Regions from separate parts of the Homo sapiens genome. Here region 2 is linked to region 1. Evidence: promoter capture Hi-C in human tissues and cell types (Jung and others, 2019). All regions are on one chromosome and are shown on one strand. The core of a region is centred on a gene start or on the middle of the fragment in contact, and the rest is flanking DNA. Distances in the headings are between cores, read along the strand shown.

Region 1 (6,561 bases), core at 1,200-3,699:
ATTCTAGCCTCCTCCCCTGGCTTATCTGTAAACTTGCATTCCAACAGTGAGCAACCTGGCTTCTACCATCCGCCATTTGTTTAATTAATTTTCGATTTCAGTATGCACGTATCAGAATTGTTAATGCATATCCCCATGAGAACAAACTTTATTAAATAGAGTAAGGTACAAAACTCATATGAGAGAAGAGGCCTTGGTGACTGACCATAGATGGGGTTATCTTAGCCTGCTTGTGTTGTTATAAAAGAATACTTAAGGCTTGGTAATGTATAAAGAAAATAGGTTTACTTGGTTCATGGTTCTGCAGACTGTACAAAAAGCATAGGACCAATACCTGCTTCTGATGAGGGCCTCCGGCTGCTTCTACTCATGGTGGAAGGGAAAGGTGAACCACTGTGGGCAGATCACATGGGGAGAGAGGAGGCAAGAGGAGGGAGGAGGAGGTTCTACACTCTTCAACAACTAGCTCTTGAGGGAACTAAGAGTGAGAACTCACTCCCATGAGGATGGCAGCAAGCCATTCATGAGAGATATACTCCCATGACCCAAACCTCCCAGTGGGCCCTACCTCTGACATTGGGGATGAAATTTCAACATGATATTGTCTTTGGAGGGGAGGCCAAATATCCAAACCATAGCAATGAATCTTATTTGCAGCTGGCCTGTGTTGGTTCAGTGCTTAACTCCAGTGGTATTTGGGAGTCTGGTAAAGACCCTCAGCCAAAATATTAATTGATTGTTCTTGCTGGTGATTTATAAGATGCTGTTTAAAGTCCAGAACTCCCTGGGAGGCATGCTTCAGCAGTATGTCTATATTATTTCTTAAACATATGTAGATTGATGATTTGCATTTGGTTTACATGTTTACCCAGCCTGATTTAAGCTACGTAATGAGTGGGGTATACAAAATCCCTCTGTAAGCTGTGCCTTAGCTTCCCAAGACCAAGGGATTACACACATATCAAGAAGAAAGTGCTCTTTCTCATGATATAGAAATATTTCTTCATGTTACTGATAATGCAATAAAGTGTATATGCTTCTGAGTGATTTGCTAATGTGTATGTCAGCAACACATTCAGTATCCAGAATGGCTTGAAGTTATGCCTTCAGGGCCAAAAATAACATAATGTTAAATTCTGTAGATTCAATAACAGAATTTATTAAGAAATCTGCACTGTGAGGTAAATGATTAAACACTGACTCTTTCTCAACATTAGATAATTCTTTTTATTCATCAGAGAAATGTGATTTATGACACATTTAAAAGCATGTTTAAGGCCGGGCATGGTGGTGTATACCTGTAGTCTCAATTACGTGGGAGGCTAGGGTGGGAGGATTGCTTGAGCCTAGTAGTTCTAGGCTTCAGTGCGCCATGATCACACCTGTGAATAGCCACTGCACTCCAGCCTGGGCAACATAGCAAGATCCCATCTCTAAAAAGAAATTTTGTTTTAAAGCATGTTTAAAACATACATACACCAGCCTGGCCAACATAGTGAAACCCTGCCTCTACCAAAAATACAAAAATTAGCTGGGCGTGGTGGCACGTGCCTGTAATCTCAGCTACTCGGGAGGCTCAGGCAGGAGAATTCCTTGAACCCGGGAGACAGAGGTTGTGGTGAGCTGAAATTGTGCCACTGTGCTCCAGCCTGAGCAACAGAGGGAGACTCTGTCTCAAAAAACAAACAAACAAACAACAAAAAAACCATACATAGAAATGTTCCAGTAGAATACAAAGAACCACTTTCTAGAACTGAATGCACCAGAGAGGATTAGAAACCCACTTATTCTCTCCCAGCTTCAAGTATTTAACGTTCCTACTTTTGCACGTGGCAGCCTTGCTGACTCAGATCCGAGGGCGTTGAAAGACAGATTCACAATTTCTGGTCCATATTTGATGCAAATATTTAGAACTATCTAGCAGAGCTTGCTGCCTTTCCAACAATCCAGTTAGTGAATTGAGAATGTTCTCATTTAATAGAAATGAAAGGTAAACGAAGGATCCACCTGGCCATGGGACTGGAGGAATGACCCAAGCCATGCTTCATAGAGGCACAGATAGACACCCTCAGGGAAGCCGAGACCCTTTGAAAAAAGGGCCTGGTGTGTGTATTTTCACACTGCCCCCTGCTGGCTGACACTGGAACATTGATTCTTCCTGCTGACACTGGAACATTGATTCTCCTGTGGCTCTAAGACGACCTAACAGGATGAGGCCAGCGGGCCCCCCGCAAGGAAACTTGAGCTAGAGGCAGTTGGATTTGGCTGAGACGCTCTCCTCAGGGAAGGCCAGGTCTGGGAGTGGGTTTGAACAGCAGTGGAGAAATAACTTCCATAGGGCATGTCAGAGTAAGTTCTAGTGTTTCCAAGAGAATGGGACAGGATCTTAGTGGAATTTAGAAGCCAGGCAGGTGGAAAAGCATTGAGGACCCCATCCCAAGGGCTCGAGTCCCTAGAGACAGCCTGGAAAGATTGGGTGCCAGCTGCAGAGAGGAGAGCAAGGCGACCAAACGCAGGGTAAGGTCTGGAGGTGCTCATAGTTCACTACGGGACATGTACATGGAAGTGAATAATTATGTCACAAGGTGCCAAGGGGGCTAGTTACCTCACATAGGATCTTAGAAAAGGTCTCCTGGAGACCATGTCTGAGCTGGTCCTGAGGTGTGAGTAGGGATTCTCCGCAGGGCGGGGAAGGACTTGAAAGAGTCTGGCAATATGGAGCACATCAGGATTATGGAAGGTGAGCTTGGAGAACAAGGCAGAGTCTAGCCTGTGAAAGGCCTCTTGCAATTTGTTGAGGATCCATGACCTTCTCCCATGCATGGTGAAATGCCCTTAAAGGATTTTGAATAGATTTAAAAGACACTCAAAAACAAAAAACGGTAGATTCAAAATAGACGGTAGGGATCGCTTTCTTCCGTTTTCTTTGAAGGATCAGAAGTGTTTACCACCACCTGGATTGTTTTTGGGCTTTCAGGTGAGTGGGAAAACAAAGAAATTCATGCCTGATCATGTTGAGCCACTTATATAATGTTGCTTTGACACTAATGGAGATGTAACTTCTTTTAAGACATAATAGAATCTCCTAAGTGGGTGTGGGAGTCGTAAGAAGGAGGAATCTGGGCTTCTACAAGCAAGATAGCATGTATTCATTTATTCAGTCAGTCAGTCGCTGGATCGATGCGCTTAGCTTTGTGCTCTGTGCTGGGTGCTGTGTGGGATATAAAAGAAGGTGAGGCCGGGTGCGGTGGCTCATGCCTGTAATCCCAGCACTTTGGGAGGCCAAGGCAGGTAAATCATGAGGTCAGGAGATCGAGACCGTCCTGGCCAACATGGTGAAACCCTGTCTCTACTAAAAATACAAAAATTAGCTGGGCGTGGTGGTGTGTGCCTGTAATTCAGCTGCCTGGGAGGCTGAGGCAGGAGAATAGCTTGAACCAGGGAGTCGGAGGTTGCAGTGAGCAGAGATTGCACCACCGCACTCCAGCCTGGCAACAGACGAGACTCCGTCTCAAAAAAAAAAAAAAAAAAAAGAAGCTGAAATTCCAGCTCTTATCCCCCAAGGAATCTGTACATCTGTACTCTGCTTGGGAATCCACAGAAGAAGGAAAGAATGCCAGCAAAGTAAGATCATGCTGCATGACCTCAAGATAGATGTTAAGGACATTTTGATGGGATAAAGGGAATCTTTGCTAGTTCAGAGATGAGCTTTACTGGCTTTGAGCTAAGTGATAGACATAAGTGGGTGGAGTGCAACTGGGGAGAATTTCAGGCCTGGGTAAGGGCCAAGTGTGAATGGATGGTCTCATGTAGGAAGCCATCAGGATAGGCATAGCAAATCCAGGAGTCCTCTAACGATGGAAGGAAGACCTTTGCTGATGTAGGAATCGCATTGCAGGTCAGTACTCCTCAGTGAACCTGGAGACCCTGTTGCTTCCTGTTCCCTACCTCAAGGCACTCAGTCTTACAACTTTGGGCTACCTCTCTGAGACAGTAGACTCTGGAGATACTAGCCATATCTTCATCTTTAACATTCACTCAAGATGAGCTGATAAAGCACCTCTTTCATGAAATAGCCCTATAATTTCTATGATTAGAAGTTGAAACTACTCTCATCACATCTTTTGATGTTTATATGAACACTCTTCTGTTAAAAAAAAGATTGCCCTAGTTTTTAGGGCTAATATTAGATGTTTCTGGCATATTCTTTACAAAGCCTTCAAACTAAGTTATGGTATAATATTTGCAATTAGAAAAACAAATACCCAAGGCATGTTTAGAGGTATTTATATGTTTTCTGGTGTCAATTGGAGGTGGAGAGGCCACCAGTGCTCTGAATCCACAAGCTAAGATGAGCTACTTGTTAGGCTTGGCTGTTTGGAATTGTCTGTTCTTTGCAAAAAGCAGACGAAATGAAGTTATGGTAGTTAGTGGGATGAGTGGGCCACCCAGAAAAGTCAAAGTTCAGGTTGGACTCATTTTCTCATGTATTTAAGTGTCTTTGCCATTTGTTTACCTTCTCCTGTGCCTCCACCTCTCATCATTAGGAGATGGGACCAGCATGCTCGGAAGCCCACTCAGCCTATGCACTCAGCAGGTTGGAACTATTAGGGAAGTATAGCCTTTGGGAGCTGTCCTTAACCAATGATGGACAGATCTTGGTGTATAAATTCCCCAGCTCCCTCGCCCTGCAGGCAGCATAACCCTGAGGAATATGTTCTACTCTGGCATCCAGGGGCCTCCCAAGCAGAGTGAAGCTCCGGTTGCCCATGCAATAAACATGCTAACACAGCCTTTTTGGGCTACCTTCCCTTCCCTTTTTCCATTCCCCACTTGCAGCATTTGCAGGGATCACCTCCCGAATAAACCACTTGTACATGAATCCTTGACTTGGCATCTAGTTCTTGGTGAATCCAGCCTCAGGCAATGAGTAACTCACATAGAGACGGCCTGCTATCTAAGTATAAGCGAAGATGAAGGAAGACTCTATTTTCTTTGGACCTGATCAAGTTTATTTACAATCTTCATTTTATTTTTATTATTTATTTATTTATTTATTTACTTATTTATTTATTTATTTAATTGAGACTGAGACTTGCTCTGTTGCCCAGGCTGGAGTGCAGTGGTGTGATCTCGGCTCACTGCAACCTCCACCTCCCAGATTCAAGTGATTCTCCTGCCTCAGCCTCCGGAGTAGCTGAAATTACAGGTGTGTGCCACTACACCCAGCTAATTTTTTGTATTTTTGTATTTTTATGGGGTTTCACCATGTTGGACAGGCTTGTCTCGAACTCCTGCCCTCAAGTGATCCACCAACCTTGGCCTCCCAAAGTGCTGGGATTACAGATGTGAGCCACCACGCCCGGCCTACAATCTCGATGTTAGACTTCACTTATTTTCTTCTGCTCTGTAACCCAGTGTGGACTGCAGTGGTGCAATCATAGTTCACTGCAGCCTCAAATTCCTGGGCTCAAGCAATCCTCCTGCCTCAGCCTTCTGATTAGCTGGGACTACAGGCATATGCCACCACACCCAGCTAATGTATTTTTATTTTTTGTAGAGATGAGGTCCCACTATGTTGCCCAAATATCCAGCCCTAAAAGATAAAATCCTGGTTTCTGCCAAAAACCTTGATGATGTTCTGTTTTCTTTCACCGAATTCAACATGTTTTCACGTAGAACAGTTTCAAACACACGTTTCATAGAAGCTCAGAAAAGACATTTTTGGGCCCAGTGGGCACTCACAGAAAGATACAAATATCCAGCCCTAAAAGCTAAAAGTAAGGTTTGTGCCAAAACACTTGATGACGTACTGTTTTCTTTCGCCGAATTCAACATGTTTTCACGCAGAATAGTTTTCAAACAAATGTTTTGTAAATGCTTAACAAAGACGTTTTTGAGCCTAATAGACTCATAAAATGATACAAATATCAAGGCCTAAAAGCTCATAGAAAGCCTTGGGCTTACAGAGCTAGAAAGAGATAACAAGTTCTTCCCATGCCACACAGCCCAGTGCAGGTTTATCAGGGAACCTTTTTCTGCTCCATTCTCTCACTTTTTCCTGGACTCTGCCCAAGTCTCATTTCTAATGTCCTAGGACCAGCTATGTGTCTGCCTTTGAGTCCCCATAGCAAATCCCCAAGTTCCTTTTGCACCTCTGATGTTTCCCTATCACTGTAGACTGTGGACTTTCCAGAGCAGGACGTTCTAGGATTTTTGCAAATCTCATTATACATAATTCCCCTTGCCAATCTCATTATACATGATTCCCCTCTAAAATTCAGTAAAGCTTGATTAGAAAACACACATGGCCACTCTTTAGGTCTTGACCATATACTCCAGGGGCAGCCATTTATAAAGCTCCCAAGGCACACCTGAGCCCAGCACTGATGCCACCCTTGTGCCAGGCCTGTCTTTTAGGGCAGATCAGACATCCTGTGACCATGCCTCAGACAGGCATTGGACATCTCCAAGAGCAACAAGTTCAACTCCTCATAGACCAGTGTATTCTTTTTACAAATTCATTATTTATTTATTTTTTAGAGTCAGGGTCTTGCCCTG
Region 2 (6,561 bases), core at 2,418-4,917, 47 kb before region 1:
TGCTATGACAAACGAGTTTGCAGTCGGCGGCCTTATACATGTGTCACGTCACACATTTGTCAGCGTGTAGGATTCTTTCAAGTGGACTTTCTGGGTTTAAGGCCATATGCATTTTTAATTTTCATAGATATTGTCAGTTTGCAAAATCTTTTTTATATTACGTGGATTAAATATATTTTAATAAGAGCAGATTAACCTACTTGTGATTAATGTCAGTATTGTATATTTATACACATACAAGGATAGACATATGCCATGGGAACCCCACATATTTTTAGATACATGTTCTGTTAAACATTATTTTTTCTAATTTTTTATTGTGGTAAGATATACATAACATAACGTTTACCATCTTAACCATGTTAAGTGGTACAGTTCAGTGGTATTAAAAGCACTCATAATGTTGCGCAACCATCACCACCATCCATCTCCAGAACTCTTTCCATCTTGTGAAACTGAAACTCTGTACCCATTAAACTCCCAATAGCTCCCCACATCCTTCTCTCTTTAGCTCCTGGCAACCACCATTCTACTCTCTGTCTCTGTAATTTTGTATGTACCTAGAATGTACTTACAGTGTACCTCAATTATATGTGGTACACTTATATGAGGTACACTCTAAGTATCTCATATAAGTGGAATCATTCAGTATTTGCTGTTTTGTAATTGGCTTGTTGCACTTAGCATAATGTCATCAAGGTTCATCCGTGGGTAGCATGTGTCAGAGTTTGTTTGCAGTATCTTGTTAGCTCTTATATCATGCTTATCCTGTGCCAGGCACTATTCTAAGTGCTTTATGTATACTAACTCATTTAAACCCTCAGCAACCCTCTGAGGTGGGTGTTATTATTATCCCTATTTTATATATAAAAGCACCGAGGCACAGAGAGGTTAGTGATATATGGCAATCATGGAGCAGGGATTTGAACCCAGGGAGTCCGGCTCTGAAGTCTGTTCTCTGAACTTTTCCTTGTATAGGTTCTCTGTAAATTCTGCATTATGTTTTTCCCCCAGCAGAAAATATTATTTGTATAAAATATATATTTGTGGAGACAGTGGGTGCTGTCGCACTGGCCACAAATTGGGGACCATGTGCCATGTCCCAGGTCCAGACAGACAGAGTTCATTTCCCTCTCCTCTCTCAGACTCCAGGGGCCTGAAGCCCCTGCAGGAGGACACCCCACAGCTGATGCGCACACGCAGTGATGTTGGGGTGCGTCGCCGTGGCAATGTGAGGACGCCTAGTGACCAGCGGCGAATCAGACGCCACCGCTTCTCCATCAACGGCCATTTCTACAACCATAAGGTAAGGTGGACAGGGGGACGGGGAGGGTGGAAGACCTCTTCCTGGGTAGATGCCACCTCAGGGCTACAGCCATATGGTGGGTGGTGTGGATGCCTGGGAAGCCAAGTGTTTGCTGCTGTTTAGTCTTTGGGTTGTGGGTGGGCTGCAAGCCCTGCTGGCTTCCTGAGGGCTGAGGGACCCCAGGTCAGAAGCCTCAAAGTCCCCCTGTGGGTTCCCCTTAAGGTGGTGGGTGAATTCAGTGGGGCTGTACAAAGCAGTCCCTGCTGTAGCCTTGAAGACCCCATAAACGCAGCTCATCAGTCTCTCCCAAGAAAATCCACGTGTTACCCTCTTCCTGCACACTGTGCCCCCAGCTGGTGTATGGTCTGGCTTTTCCCAGAGCTGAAGCAGAGCTGCAGGTCTCAGACCTGGGGTGTCAGTGCACCACCCACCCCACCCCATCTTGCTGATCCCTCCTTTCCTCCTGCTTTGTTCAAATCCTACCCCCGGAGGCAATACATGGTGGGAGAGTGGTCAGAGACAGCCTTGTGCTGAAGTCCCAGAGGAAGGGTCTTTTTGAGCGTGGAGCATGAACTGAATTATGCAAACCCCGAGGGTTGCTTTGTCTACAAAGCCTGCTGCTTGCCAGTCTGCCGGGGGCTCCCAGGGAGTACATTCTGAGTATCGTTGTCACTGTGCCCTGTACCGCACCTGGATTTTAGCACTGGGTCCTTGTTCCCACTCCCACCCTGAGCTGGGCCCTTCTATTGACAGACATCCGTGTTCACACCAGCCTATGGCTCTGTCACCAACGTCCGCATCAACAGCACCATGACCACCCCACAGGTCCTGAAGCTGCTGCTCAACAAATTTAAGGCAAGTTCCCTTTGCTGAGTGGCCACAGATGGGGTCACAGCTGTGCCTTGGGACTCCTAGAGTGGTTGTGCGAGGAGCTATGGAAATTGTGTGTTTTGTGGGATGCTGAGCAGAGGGCTTCGGTTCTTTAGATCCTCACGATCCAGGACAAAGTCCACAGAATCAGCATCAGCATCACCTGGGTGCTTGTTAGAAATTCAGATTCTCAGGCCCCACCCCAGACCCACTAAATCAGAAATTGTGAGGGGTAGGCCAGGGACGCCGTCTAACAAGCCTGCAGGGGATTTGGATGCCTACCGAAGTTTGAGAAACATCAGCCCTCAAATCCTTTATGGGCTACTTTAGAAGGACCCTGGGGCCTGCTGACTGGTTTTGGGCTCAGTGCGAAGATTGACTTCTGGGACACAGTTGGGAAACCTACTTTGAAATATGATACTTAAATAGACGTGCAAATTATAGTGCAGGAGTGCTTTTAAAGTTCTGTTGCTCTGTGTTTTCCACAATCTCTTGGAGACCAGAGATCTTTTGGAGACCAGGTGTTCTTATTTTTAATGGAAGCCAGTGTAGCCTAACAACCTAAGAACACAGGCTCTGGGTTCAAATCTCCACTGAGCACCTGCTAGTTGGATGAATTGGGCAGGTTACTTAACCTGCCCCTGCCTCTGCTTCGTCATCATAAAATGAGGATAATGGGACTTCACTATGGTATCGTCGTGAGCATTAGATGGGTTGAAGCCTTTAACATTTGTAGAACTATGCCTGGCACATTGCAATAGACGATAGCTGTTATCTATCCTAGTCGTGTGCTACAGAATGACCAATTTGGTCAATGATGCACCACATATACGACAGTGGTCCCGTAAGATTATAATCCATTTTTTATGGTACCTTTTCTGTGTTTAGATATGTTTAGATACACAAATGCTTACCATTGTGTTACAAGTGCTTACGGCATTGAGTACAGTAACATGCTGTATAGGTTTGTACACTAGGAGCAATAGGCTATATACCATATGGCCTAGGTGTGAAGTAGGCTATGCCATCCAGGTTTCTGTAAGCACACTCTATGATGTTTGCACAACAATGAAATTGCCTAGTGACACATTTCTCAGAATGCATCCTCGTGGTTAAGTGCATGACTGTATTATTGATAAAGTCATCTGCCTTCTCGATCTTCTCATCACTTCTGAGAGTTGTAGATAAATAGCTCTCCCCTCAAAACAGCCTAAAATTGACTTAGCTTTGCATTGCTAAAGAAGAGGAAAAGCCTCGAAGTTGGGATGTTTAAATAGAAACTTTCAACAAGAATCTTTTGCTCCTGCTTCAGATTGAGAATTCAGCAGAGGAGTTTGCCTTGTACGTGGTCCATACGAGTGGTGGTAAGTCTGAAGACCACAGTGTACTTTAAAACTTCTAATTAACTCAAAATAGCAAGTTAAAAAAATACCTCTGCCTCCTTTGCTTGTTGTTTGAGTTTTGGAAACTTCCAAATGTTGTTTGCCTTCAAGGCTGATGGGCTTGCTGTATGAGTCTACTAGGGATTGCCTTATATGGCCAGTAAACAAATTCTAAACCTAACTGCCTATTAAAAGAGGAACTAGATTTTCTTAAGAGACAGATAAACCCAATTCCTCCAAGGAGTTTGAGGCATGGTGGTATTGTTGAGGGGTGAGGAGTGGGAGGAAGTTGCTTTTCACAACACCTATGGAATAGTTCACTTATAAATCAGTCTCCTGACGTATATGGCGGCATCTCCTAAGGTGCCTTTGGACCCCTGCATTAACCACTACTTAATGTGAGAAAGGCCTCTCAGGGCTGCTCCTGGGTGTGTGTGGTTGCAGAGAAACAGAAGCTGAAGGCCACCGATTACCCGCTGATTGCCCGAATCCTCCAGGGCCCATGTGAGCAGATCTCCAAAGTGTTCCTAATGGAGAAGGACCAGGTGGAGGAAGTCACCTACGACGTGAGTTCCCTTTGGGTCAGGCGATCTGTCCTCAGGAGGGTGGGGATTTGGTTGGACCACCTGTAACTGGGGTATAGAATGACTTTTTTGACCAACGACCATGCCCCCTTTTACTTCTTCAGCACCAGGTTCTCTCGAAGCCAGCTTTTGCAGAGTAACAAACATCTCCAAATCATAGTAGCTGACAACAGCAAACATTTGCTTTTTTGCCCATGATTCTGTGGTCTAGTAGCAATGGCTCTACTCTAAGTATGGGTTGAGTTCAAGTCTGCACTGTGTGACTCACCCAGAGGCCCAGGCTTTTGGGGCAGTAGTTACTGCACATGGGTGTGGTCCTCATGGCAGATGGCGGAGCATGAGAAACCAGGCCAAATCATGTAAGCATATTTGAAGCCTCCACTCAGATTTGGTGTGTCATGTCCACACACATTCCACTGGCCAAAGCCAGTCACATGGACAAGCTCAGCATTAATAGGGTAGAGAAATGTACTTATCCCAGGGAGAAGAGTTGATAGAGCAGGGTGGGGATTCTTGTGGGGAAAGGGAAGCCATTTTTTAACTTTTTTTTTTTTTTTGGGATGGAGTCTCGCTCTGTTGCCCAGGCTGGAGTGCAGTGGCACCTCCCTGGTTCAAGCTATTTTCCTGCCTCAGACCCCTGCGTAGCTGGGACCACAGGTGTGCACCACCATGCCTGGCTAATTTTTGTATTTTTAGTAGAGACGGGGTTTCACCATGTTGGCCAGCTGGTCTTGAACTCTTGACCTCAAGTGATCCGCCCGCCTCAGCCTCCCAAAGTGCCGGGATTACAGGCATGAACCACGATGCCTGGCACCGTTTTTAAACTTTAACTCACCCCATAGCCACCCACAGCCTCTCCAAAGCGAGTTCATATTTGGATGCTTGTTTGAGCCTTGAGACCCAAATCGTCATCTGGAACCCTGATTCCTTCCATTCTCTTAGGGGAGAACAAAGGGGTTTATTAAACATAATGGGTTCAGTTCTTTCTCTGCATCACTGTGTCAAAAGAAAGTACTTTTCTGTGTTTGGCTTCACCTCATCATGAATTGAATGCATGACATGAAAAATGAGAAGTTATGAGATGGTGTCACGTAAGCGAAGCGATCATCGCAGACTCCTTCCCACCCTGGTGAGGAATGAGGCTTGGCTGCTGCCTTTAAGGAAATCCTGGGTTTCTGAAAAAAATAGACTTCCCAAGGCTTTGTGCCTTGTATAAGGACAACCCTGAAAGGAATTGGAATAATGCTGGGAAGGGCATTCACCCAGACTTGCTTCTTTCTCTCTAGGTGGCCCAGTATATAAAGTTCGAGATGCCGGTACTTAAAAGCTTCATTCAGAAGCTCCAGGAGGAAGAAGATCGGGAAGTAAAGAAGCTGATGCGCAAGTAAGTGTGGCTTCTGGGGCACTGGGTGCACTTCTCCTGGGGCCTCAACAGAGGGGCCTCTGCTGGGTCCTCGCAGGGACTGTGCTGAGCTGCTGCATGGGCCTGAGTCTCGGCTTTCTTTGGAGGGCTGCCCATTGACAAACCTGGATTTCAAGTGAGGACGTGACAGTTAAGTGTGTTCATCTACTTCTTGTGTCAGCTTCTCGTTTTGATGTGGGACATCAAAGTGTCTCTTGTCCTCCCTCTTATGGAAAGACTCTGAAAAGAAGGTGTTGGTTTAAAATTTCTTTGGGGTCTAGATGCAGAAATAGGGAAGGTGACTGTACGCTGGTTTCTTAAGTATACGATCAGGCTCCCAGCAGGAGACAGATGCTCACTCCGATGAGGGTCTTTGACGGGTGTTTGAAGAAGGGACTATTTGCGAAGACTTGGGCAGAGTCTGGGGTAACCTCAAGGGATAGTGCAGTCCCTGGGGCTAGTGTTACCACCCCTTGCCTGAAGGGGTGAAGGCAAGGAGTGCTAACCAAGACCCGGAGGTTCCAGGGATTTCAGGAAGGCTGTCTTAGCCGTGGATGTAGCCTGAGCTACTGGCCTCCAAAATCCTCTCCTCTCCCCCTTCCTCCCTTTGTAACATTTATCTTCTGGAAATTGCATTTGGATTGAAAAATAAAGCGGCTTTCTGGGAAGGATTTTGTGATTTCTTTGCTATGTTTAGTCATAGAAGAGACTGCCTTTCATAGATATGGTGGAATTAATGATTCATTTTTGCCACTGGAGAATAAAGCCGCTGCTGGATTTGCTGTATCGATGATCATAACTAGTCTGATAACACACTGAACACTTACTATGTCCTAAAGTTTTTGTTGTTGTTGTTGTTGTTTTGTTTTGTTTTGACACAGAGTCTTGCTCTGTTGCTCAGGCTGGAGTGCAGAGATGCGATCTCGGCTCACTGCAACTTCTACCTCCCAGACTCAAGTGATTCTCCCGTCTCAGCCTCCCCAGTAGCTGGGATTACAGGCATGCGCCACCATATCT

What was found. Contacts are between HindIII fragments. The study calls those that stand out against the background at their distance.
Region 2: a contact is called between a fragment that was not itself captured here and the fragment with the promoter of PRNT in region 1, in 1 of the 25 tissues and cell types used here (IMR-90 fibroblasts).

The regions. Positions count from the first base shown.
Region 1 is chr20:4,736,556-4,743,116 of GRCh38, reverse strand. It overlaps PRNT (prion locus lncRNA, testis expressed), which reads left to right and starts at 2,449. Exons shown (of 2, transcript NR_024269.1): 1 at 2,449-2,517. The HindIII fragment of the contact is 12,758 bases long and covers 1-6,561 here.
Region 2 is chr20:4,785,196-4,791,756 of GRCh38, reverse strand. It overlaps RASSF2 (Ras association domain family member 2), which reads left to right. Exons shown (of 12, transcript NM_014737.3): 7 at 1,146-1,306; 8 at 2,060-2,161; 9 at 3,489-3,540; 10 at 4,003-4,124; 11 at 5,429-5,526. Among named protein-coding and RNA genes, the nearest start is that of RASSF2, 35 kb to the left of the region's middle. The HindIII fragment of the contact is 6,947 bases long and covers 194-6,561 here.